Linked DNA regions of Homo sapiens: regions 1 and 3 are each linked to region 2. Evidence: promoter capture Hi-C in 16 types of primary human blood cells and fetal thymus (Javierre and others, 2016). All regions are on one chromosome and are shown on one strand. Each heading gives the region's core, a stretch centred on a gene start or on the middle of the fragment in contact. The rest is flanking DNA. Distances are from core to core; before and after follow the strand shown.

Evidence for each region. The method cuts DNA at HindIII sites, captures the fragments that hold promoters and counts their contacts. A CHiCAGO score of 5 or more calls a contact.
Region 1: a contact is called between a fragment that was not itself captured here and the fragment with the promoter of BMP3 in region 2, in 3 of 17 cell types (M2 macrophages, M1 macrophages and total CD4 T cells). The highest score is 7.4, in M2 macrophages.
Region 3: a contact is called between a fragment that was not itself captured here and the fragment with the promoter of BMP3 in region 2, in 1 of 17 cell types (M2 macrophages). The highest score is 7.4, in M2 macrophages.

What each region holds. Positions count from the first base shown.
Region 1 is chr4:78,948,792-78,952,251 of GRCh38, reverse strand. No RefSeq gene overlaps it. Among named protein-coding and RNA genes, the nearest start is that of PAQR3, 11 kb to the right of the region's middle. The HindIII fragment of the contact is 2,055 bases long and covers 559-2,613 here.
Region 2 is chr4:81,028,319-81,032,001 of GRCh38, reverse strand. BMP3 (bone morphogenetic protein 3) reads right to left here and starts at 1,294. Exons shown (of 3, transcript NM_001201.5): 1 at 402-1,294. The coding sequence starts at 717. The HindIII fragment of the contact is 6,285 bases long and covers 1-3,683 here.
Region 3 is chr4:78,966,884-78,970,542 of GRCh38, reverse strand. No RefSeq gene overlaps it. Among named protein-coding and RNA genes, the nearest start is that of LINC01088, 3.0 kb to the left of the region's middle. The HindIII fragment of the contact is 2,286 bases long and covers 978-3,263 here.

The sequences.
Region 1 (3,460 bases), core at 337-2,836, 2.1 Mb after region 2:
GTATTTTAAAAACTCTTTAAATTTCTAATGGGCTGGATTATTCATATTTAGGAATTTCAAATCATATATAGATAATTTTTTTTTTAATCATAGTGTACCAACCTTAAAATCACTCATTTCTCATCCCTATCTCAGTGTAAGGCTCAAGTCCAGAGCGCAAGAGGTGACAATTCTGCAGGAGAAGAGTGCCATCTGCAGGAGGACTGTATAATAACTGACAAAATCCTCAGAGTTAATAAAAATGAGACAATTCATTAGTGGAGATTCCACACTCAGCAAGTTGTCTGGCATACAGTAAACTCAATAAATTATTATTGTTATTTGCATGGTAGTAATTATGGCAATATATAATTTTGCATTGCATCTCTTGAAATTGAAAAACAAAAACAAATCAAAAGCCCAAGGAAGAAAGAACCAGAGGCTATTCAGATTATTCAGATCATTCTCCTGGTTTTCATAGGAACCCCTCCAGATATGTAAGAATCTATACCATTTTTAAAGATCTTACAGAAGGAAATTCCACAGCCTCTTATATTCATACCCATGGCTCTACAAGCTTCAGCAGGGCCAGGGCCAGGAAAACTTTGTTACATAAATTTACTTTGGAATGCTCTCCTTCCGCCCCTTTCAGAATCGATACCAGCCCTCATTTTAGAACATACGTTCTTTCATCTGTTCAATAAATATTTTTTTGTGCACCTGCTATGTCCCAGGTGCTGTGATATTTAACCTGCATACAATGGTGAACCCACCATATTTCCTGTCTTTCAAAAGTTTACAGCCAGTTGATCCTCTAAGACTCCAGGATGCTCCTGCTTCCTTTTCCCTGTCTCCCACCTCCTTTTTCAGCTCCTCCTTCCTTCTTCCTTATAAATACTTCATGCTAGGAACTTCCCACAATCCCCCTTACTCTCAACAAAACTAAACTGCCTGTGCTTTATTTTCTCAGGGTTCTAACCTAGGTAGTGACTAGCTAATCTGGTAAATGATTTCACGACAAATGCTAATTGATCTCATCACCAAAGTAATTTGAACACTTTTTCATGAGGTATTTCTGAAGACACAACAATCATTTAGGTCTCTGTGTTGGACTAATGGAGATGATCTTCTGAGTTAGGCAGGGCCTTGTGGTGTATGTGGTACCTGGTACTCCAAAGAGCAGAGCCAACCTTGATTTTTTTGGTTTTACGCCATTATTTCAACCTATTTCTCAATTTGCCACAATAGAGTTAAAGAATTCTATTGAAGATGTACCCAATCATCTTTTACTATAGAGTAGCTCCTTTAAATTCTTGATAAATGTCTCTTCTCATTCTTTTCTCTGATACAAACAGGCTCCCAATAATAATTCAAAACACCACTGAAAAATGAAACATTATGTTAACTTGCATTTTTCATCTTTTATGCATATTTTCCTAAATTTTACACTGCAAATAGATGATGAAGCCACCACTGAACTTCCTCAATTTTATAAGTTCAAATCAGATATGAGATTATTGCAAGCTACTACTCCTGTCTGTTATAAGAGGTGATTTCTACTATTAGTGGTTCCTGATGCATTTTCTTAACCATTCTGCAAGATGGTGTTTGTTTAATTCTGGGCTCTGCAAATGGTGGTCCTGTTTCTGACAGCATTTATTAAAAATAAAAATACATCAGCCCAAATTAAGAAAAAATCCCTTCATTTTCTTGAACTGGAGTGTATATATTCATACCGAAGAAAATATAAGAAAACAAGTAATAAGAAGATAGGGTTTGTATCCCAAAATGTAAACTTTTTCAATGAGGCATAGTTTTTTTTCTTTATTTTAATATCTATCTCTAATTTTAAGAAGGCCCTGTGGAAACTGCATCAACTGCCTTTGAATATTTCCTTGGATATGATTGGGTTGTTAAATTTACACGTTCAAATCTCCTGGATAAGAATGATCTGTAACAACCCACTACAAATTTGGGCAACATTTATAAATAAACATTGGAATTTATTCCTCGGAAAATTTAAAATGCCATAGGTGAAGGGAATTGAATATTATTGATGCTTTTTCAGTGCCAGGTACTTTGTATATGTTATTTCGTGTGACTTTAAGCCCTGTCAAGTTATTTAGGTTGTTTAGACTTATCCTCATCTAATAGATGAGAAAATCAAGACCAAGAGAAATTCTATAACTTGCCAGTAAGTTATATTGTTCAGATTCAGCCTCACGTCCATCTGGGTCTAGCACATGTTCCTTCTATGATACATGAAGACCCTTATTGTAAGTGCTGGCTGTGAGTTTCAAATGAAAAGATGGGCTTGGCATTGGGATGAGATGATGTAACCCAAGGCAAGAACTCTGATGGAGCACCCTGAAATGGAACACTGTAATGGACCACCATAAAAACAGGAAAACATCTTTAAAGAGCATGTGGTTACTTATTTAATATACATTACTGATTATCAAGTTATGTTTATCATTTGTGGGGGTTTTAGATCTAATTTTCAAAGTGTAGCCATTTGGAGATTAAATATTATAGTGTAATGTCTGTACATCATTTCTGGTGAATCAGACTTCACTATTACTATAAATACATTTTAGGCTAAAAAACCCTGACTCCTAGAGTAATGAATAAGCTTATCCCTCACATTTAAGCTTTATTGATTTCTGCTTTGTATTATGTTTCAGAATATTTAGAATGTCATTTTTGTAGTTAATAGGATTGTCTGTGCAGATGGTAAAAATACATTTATTCAAGCCCAATCTTCATTCTAAAGATTTTGGTATAACATTATTTGTTCACTTCTTTATTTATAGAAAATTTATTGTAAAACTGTTGGGTATTTATCGTAAACCCTAGCATGAAACTACCATCTGACCGTGACCCAGCAATTGCACTTTGGGGAATTTATCCCAGAGATAAGAAAAATTCGATTTTCACAAAAACCTGTATAATAACCCAAATCTGGAAACAACCCAGATGTCCTTCAACAGGTAAATGATTGAACAAACTGCGATATATCCAATCCCAAAAGGTTACATACTGTGTGATTTCATTTATATAACATTATCAAAACAACAAAATCATAGAAATGAACAAATTAGTGGTATCAGGGGTTAAGGAATGGGTGGGCAGGAGAAAGTATGTGTGGCTGAATCCACAACATAAGGGATCTTTGTGGTAATGGATCTTTGTGGCGAATGATACTGCACCTTGACTGTTATCAGTGTCAATATCATGGTTGTAATATTGTGCTATAGCTTTTCAAGATGTTATTATTGGAGGAAACTGAGTAAAGGGTACAAGGGATCTCTGTCATTTCTTAAAATTGTATATGAGTCTACAATGACCTCAAAATAAAAAGTTTAATTAAAAAAAAGAGGTCAAGCATGGTGGCTCATACCTGTAATCCCAGCATTTTGCCAAGGCAGGAGGATCACTTGAGACCAGGAGTTCAAGACCAGCCTGGGCAACATAGGGAAAC
Region 2 (3,683 bases), core at 45-2,544:
GCTAAAGCCCAGTCCAAAGGAATTTCCGCTGGCCGATTTAGGAATCAACAGAATAAGGTACCCTAGAGGTGCTCCAGTCACTCAGGGCAGGAGGCCTCACAGGCATGGGGTGTCGCCCCTTCCCTTTTTCCACGAAGCTCCTCCAGCCTACCCCTCCACTGCTCCGCGCCTTCATTCTATTTCCCCCTCTCACTTTGGATTTGAAAACTGGGCTTACAGGAGATGCAGCTGGCGACACGCGGGGTGTGACTGGACGGAGGAATCCAGAGGGCAGCTGAGGAGGGCGGAGAAAGGTCCCTAGGCAGCGCCACCAAGCAAGGGGCAGACAAGGAAGCTGTGGGGGGTCCCGGGAGAAAGCTGGGGCGGGACCGCGGGAAGGGAGTCTCACCTCGCGCACTCACCTGCTGCTGCCGCCCGAAAGCTGCGAACCGTGTTGCCTTCGCGCAGGAGCCGAGGGCGCCAGGGCTGCGAGCCTCCCTCCAGGGAGCCCGGTGTCCGGGCCGCCTGGACCGTGCTGTACCTGTCATAGAGCCGCAGCATGTGTTCAGAGACCTTGTCTTGCGGCTGCAGCTCGGAGTCCGGGCCACCACCTGCCGTGCGGTCACCTGGCACAGCTTTGCGGAGCTCCGGGAAAGGTGGCTTCGGTCTCTCTCCCTGCGCCAGGCTCACGCAGAAGCAGCCCAGCCACAGAAAGAGCAGCCTGCTCGCCCCAGCCATGGCTAGGTACCCGCGCGGCGCGTCGGCTCCCGGCGTCGCTGCGGGACACTCCGAAGGCGCAAGGAGCCGGCGGCGGAGCCGAGGGTTGAACTCCAAACCAGCTGGGGCGAGGGCGCACGGAGCCCGGGACGCGGCCGGGTGCAGCGAGATAGCGGCCAGCCCCACTTGCTGCGCTGACCCAGCGCAGCCTGACAGGTGGGCTCTTCCCCAGCAGCTGCGCGGACCTCACCCGCGCAGGGCGCTGCGGGCGCCGTCTCCACTCCAACGCTGAGAAAGAGCTGTAGGTCGCGGCGTGTGTGGCCCGGGTGTTTTCAAGATCTGTCTGTACCTTCCCTCCTCGCTTTATTTTTGGGAACACCCGGCCAAACTGGCCGCGCGAGGGACTAGGACTAGCTCTGTTTTGGGCGCCAGGTCGGAGCCGGGGCTGTGCGCAGCGGTCCGGAGGGCGCTCGATTGCCTTTTCCAGGGATTGGAGCAGCTGCGGCGCGGCTGGTCCGAGTTTTTTAGTGTACGTGTGTGTGTGTGTGCGCGCGCGCGCGCGCGTGTGTGCGTGTGTGTGTGTGTATGAGAGAGAGAGACTTAGTTCTTTCGCTCTCTAGCTGATCTGTAGAGTCCTCAGCCAATCTCTCCCACTCCCTCGTCCTCGCCCTCTTAGCTTGCACCAGGCTGGGATAGAAGCAAGGGAGGGGGGGAGTAACCAGAGAACTGGCAGCGGGAGGGAGAGAAGAGGAAGTAGGGGTGGGGATGGCTGGGGAGAGGAAGGGAAAAGGAGATTCAGGACTAAAGAAATGGTAGGAGGGACGGTTTTTTTGTTTTGTTTTGTTTTGTTTTTGTTTGTTTTTTTTTTTAATTCTCCAAGAACAGTGGCTGTGTGGTGGCTAGCAAGAGGGCAGAGGAAAACAGAACTTCTTCCTGGCTTTTCGGTCTTATGATTCCAAACAAAGTCACAACGTGAACACCATTCTCGCTTACTTTCCCGAGCCTCTTCTGACGGACACTGCGGGCCCCTGCACCTGCAGCCCGTCATCATAGCTTCCTGTCTTTCTGAGAGCATACCCATCATAACGCCCCTCTCTCCCGCATCATCTTCTCTCGAGGTGAGAAATATGTGCGAGTCAATATCATGTTAAAAACAAATAAGAAAACAAGCAAACACACCACAACCCCACCTACAGCTTCCCCCAAAGGTTTCCTTCCTACAGGTCCCCAAAAGGTTTCCCAGCAGGATGGTGCAGTGGTGGCTAAAAACAAGGGTGTGTGGAAGATCCCGGAGTCCGGAACAGAATGTAAGAGTCGCTAGCTTTGTCTTCCTAATTCTCTCTTGTCATGGCTGTACAATGGAGATTAAACTATGAGCAGCCTGGCGCAGTGGCTCAGGCCTGTAATCCCAGCACTTTGGAAGGCCAAAGCGGGTGGATCACGAAGTCAGGAGTTCGAGACCAGCCTTGCCAACATGGTGAAACCTCATCTCTACTAAAAATACAAAAATTAGCTGGGCGTGGTGGTGCGCACATGTAATCCCAGCTACTGGGAAGGCTGCGGCAAGAGAATGGCTTGAATCCAGGAGATGGAGGTTGCAGTGAGCCGAGATTGTGCCACTGCACTCCAGACTGGGTGACAGAGCAAACTTTGTCTCAAAACAAAAAACAAACAAACAAACAAAAAACAACTGTGAGCTAACATTTTTCTCCACACTTATGCTCTAGACATGCCTTGTTATTTATATTTCAAGTATATTACCAAATAATTTTCACAGCAAAACCCATTTTACAGATGAGGAAACTGAGGCAAAAGGATACATAGTAAGTGACAGAACTGAGATCCAAATTCAGGGAGTCTGATTTCTGGCCTCAGGCCAGATAACCACACTATTAATAGTGAAATTAGCATTTAAACTGAAGTTTCAGTGTGCAATCCATGTAAATGTTTAGTGCAGTTCTTGACCATATGCAGTAAAATCTTCAGTCAATGTCTATTGCATTTATCCCTCTTCCCCTCTGTAGGGCAATGGAGTTGATCGAAAAGAAGATAGGCTCCTGGAGTCACACCATGTCTCCAGATCTGAGTTTCTTCTTTGATGGTGAATAACAACACATTCCTTTTAGAGTTTTGTTTGGATGACATTAGAAAGCAGTGCTAAAGTGACTGGCGCACTCACTAGCCTTTAATAGGGGCTCAATCCCTTTCTATCCTAAATTTATCCCAAATCCAGACTACATTCTCCCCACTCAGTCACTTCTTAACCCACTGCGGTTTGGATTTTGCCCTTAGCCACCCCGGGAACTGTTCTGCAGATAATAACACATATTTCAAGAGTAGTTGTGAGGATTAAATGAGATCATGTGTTTGATCTTTGCTTGGCATAAAGAACATAATAGCTTTTGTGATTAATAATGAAGATCTAATTGCAAAATTCAATAGGCCCTGGAAACTCTCTCTTTGATTTTTTCCCTGTGAACTATTGGTTGTTTTTCCATTCCTTTCTGCCCTTTCTCAGTTCTGTCAGCTGCCTCCTCTTTCTAGGCCTGCCTCAAGCGTTCCTGACATCTTTACTCTGCCCTTGGAAAATGCCAAATCCAGAAGAAAATTCTTTTTCAGTTCTTCTGCTTTGGTGGTCACCTCTGGCCTTTAAATATATAGTTCTGGGTCCCCCTCAGCTCCAGTCCTCCTTGCCAAAGAAGTTCATCCTCTTCCCCTTTGAAACCATCTTTGAGACTTCCCTCCCTTTAGCTACAGTGCATATTTCTGTCACAACATTTGCCACTCTGTACTCCACATGATTCTTCATTCATAGATACTGAAGACTGACAGCATGTCTACAATGGCTCCCTTCCCTTTGCTGCACCTCCAATCTGTTATTTAAGCCATAAGCATAAAATAAGAGTGCCATCTCACAGGGTTGTAGTAAAGAATAATTGGATAGTCCATTTCAAGAGATTAGCAGAGTGCCTAGCACATAGCAAATG
Region 3 (3,659 bases), core at 871-3,370, 2.1 Mb after region 2:
GTCAGAGAAAAAAGAAACATTACACGGAAGAAAAAAATGATAAAAATTATGTCTAATTTCTCTTCAGAAACAATTACTCCAAAACAATGGAATGACATCTTTAAAGAGCTGAAAGTGAAACATGTTAGTCTGGAATTCTGTATAGGATTCTAAATAGATTCTACATAAAATTGTAGCATAGTCCTATATCCTACAAAAATGAAAAATAAAGACATTTTCATACCCTTCTCCCCAAATCAGATTTTTTTTCCAGGAGACCTACACAAGAAATGCTAAAAGAAATTCTTCAGGGCCGGGCGCGGTGGCTCACGCCTGTAATCCCAGCACTTTGGGAGGCTGAGGCAGGCGGATCACAAGGTCAGGATTTCGAGACCATCCTGGCTAACATGGTGAAACCCCATCTCTACTAAAAATACAAAAAATTAGCCAGGCCTGGTGGCAGGCGCCTGTAGTCCCAGCTACTCGGGAGGCTGAGGCAGGAGAATGGCATGAACCCAGGAGGTGGAGTGTGCAGTGAGCCTAGATAATGCCACTGCACTCCAGCCTGGGTGACAGAACGAGACTCCGTCTCAAAAAAAAAAAAAAAAGAAAAAAGAAATTATTCAACATGTACATAATAGGCACATAAAATAGGCACAACAAACCATTTGGCAAAATCCAACATCCATTCCTCATAAAACGACTCAGTGAAAAAGAAACTGAAGAGAATTTTCTCAACCAAAAAAAAGCACCTATGAAAATGTATTATACTGAAAGATAAAAGACCAGAACAAGACAAGAATTTTTACTCTCAACACTTCTATTCAACTTTGTCCTGGAAGTTTCAGCTAGTACAATAAAAAAAGAAAAGAAAAATAAATAAGCACAGAAATCAGAAAAGAAGAAATAAAACTGTCTTTATTCACAGACAATATGATCATTTGTATAGAAATGTGATGGAATCGAGAATCAAAGCTACTTGTACTAATAAGTAAGCTTAGCAAGATTTCGGGATACAAGATTGGCATATAAAATCAACTGAATTTCTATATACTAGCAACAAGTTATTGGAAATTGAATGTTTTAAATGTCGCTAATGATAACATAAAAATATATAAAATAGGGATAATGTACATAAAAGATGTGGAAAACCTATAAACAGAAATCTTAAAACATTGTTGAGAAAAAATAAAGAAAAAACAAAATAAATAGATATATTAATTAGCCAGTAATATATAAAATATTACTCAATATTTTAAAGATGTCATTTCTTCCCAAATTATTCTACAGATTCCAGCAAATTCCAATCAAAATCCCAGGAGGACTTTTGTAGAAATTGACAAAACACATATGAAAATGCAAAGAACCTAAAATAGTCAACAGCAACTATTTTTTAGCTCAGTGGCAAGAAACAATAGCAACTTTAAAAAAGAACAAACAAGTTGGGGGGTTAACGCTATTTGATTCAAGACTTCTTGTAAGTAATCAAATAAATGTAGTACTTGTAACATACACCAGTAGATCAATGAAGAAACAGACCTGGCCAGGCAAGGTGTCTCATGCCTGTAATCCCAGCACTTTGGGAGGCCGAGGTGGGAGGATCATCTGAGGTCAGGAGTTCAAGACCAGCCTGGCCAATGGTGAAACCCCATCTTTACTAAAAATACAAAAAAAGAAAAATTAGCCAGGCATGGTGACACATGCCTGTAATCTCAGCTACTCAGGAAGCTGAGGGAGGAGAATCACTTGAACCCCGGAGGCGGAGGCTGCAGTGAGCCAAGATTGTGCCACTGCACTCCAGCCTGGGTGACAGGGAGAGACTCTGTCTCAAAAAAAAAAAAAAAAAAAGAAAAGAAAGAAAGGAAAGAAAGAAAGAAAGACACCCCCACACATACATGAGCAAATGTTTTCCACAAGGATGCAAAGAAAATCTAATAGAGAAAGAAAGGATAGTCTTTTCAAAAACAATGCTGGAGCAACTGGATATCCACATGCAAAAAAGAAACTTGAATCTGCCCCTTAATATATCTATTTATTTTGCCACATGCAAAAATTAACTTAAAATGAATCATTGACTTAACTGAAAATAAAATGACAAAACTTCTTTTTAAAATAGGAGAATAACTTTTGTGACCTTATGATAGGCAGATTTTTCAGATATAACAAAAATAATCTACGAAAGAACAAACTGACAAATTGGACCTTATCAAAATTAAATGTACTGTTCTTCAAAAGATACTGCTAATAGAATAAGAAAATAAGCCACAGGATGGAAGAATATATTTCCAAATGATTTCTATAATTTTTTAAAAAACTAGTATCCAGAATACATAATGATTCAAAATAAATTGAATCACTGTATTCAAAAGAAATAACCCAATGTTTTAAAGGACAAAAGATTTGAACAGACACTTCAGCAAAAAAGATAATGAGTGGCAAATAAACACATGAAAAGAGTCTCAACATCATTAGTCATTATGGAAATGGAAATTGGAACCACAATGAGATGCCCCTTCATACCTGGGTAAATGGATAAAATTTTAAATATCAATAAACAAACAAATAAGTAGAAATTGACCATACCAAGCATTGGTAAAGATATAGGAGAACTGGAACTCTCATACACTTGATGGCAGAATTATAAAATAGTATAACCCATGGTCATTGGAGGAAACAGCATAGATGTTAATCAACAAATTAAAAATAAAACAACCATATGATCCAGCAATCCTACTTCTGGGTATTTATCCAAAGGAAATGAAATCAGTAAGTCAGTGAGATATCTGTACTTCTATGTTCATTGCAGATTATTCACAATTTCAAGACATGGAATCCACCTAAGTGTCTATTAATGGGAATAAATAAAATGTAGTATATATACACAATGGAATAGTATTCAGCCATTCAGCCATAAAAAATGAAATCTAATCATTTGTGACAACATAGATAAATCTGGAGGATATTATGCTGAGTGTAATAAGCCATGCACAGAAAGACAAATACTGTATGATCTTACTTTTATGTGGAATCTAAAAGAGTTGAACTCATAGAAGCAGAGAATTGAAAGATGGTTACCAGGGGCTTGTGAATGTGGGGACAATGTGGAGATGTTGGTCAAAGAGTAAAAAGTTTCAGTTAGACAGGAGAAATAAATTTTGGAGAATGATTACACAACATGGAGACTACAGTTAATAATAATCTAAACTTGAAATTGCGGAAAGAGATTTTAACTGTTCTTACCACAAAAAAATAAGCATGTGAGGTGATAGATATGTTAACAAGCTTGATGTAATAATTCCACAATCTATACATATATCAAAACATCACATTGTATACCATAAATGTATGCAATTTTTATTTGTCATTTAAGATATAGATTTGTAAATTAAATTAAATCATAAAATACTACAACTACTTTGAAAAACAGTAGACTTTTTTTTAAGGTTACCACAAAATCCAGCCATTTTACTATTGGGTATTTACCCAAGAGAAATAAAAGAATATGTCCACATAAGACCTGTACACAAATGTACATAGCAGCTTTATTTTTAATGGCCCAAACTAGAAAGAACCCAAATGTGCATAAACAGATGAATGGATAAAGAAACTATGGCACACCCATACAATGGAATATTACTCAGCAACAAAAATGAGTAAGTTATTGGTATGTGCTACATTAT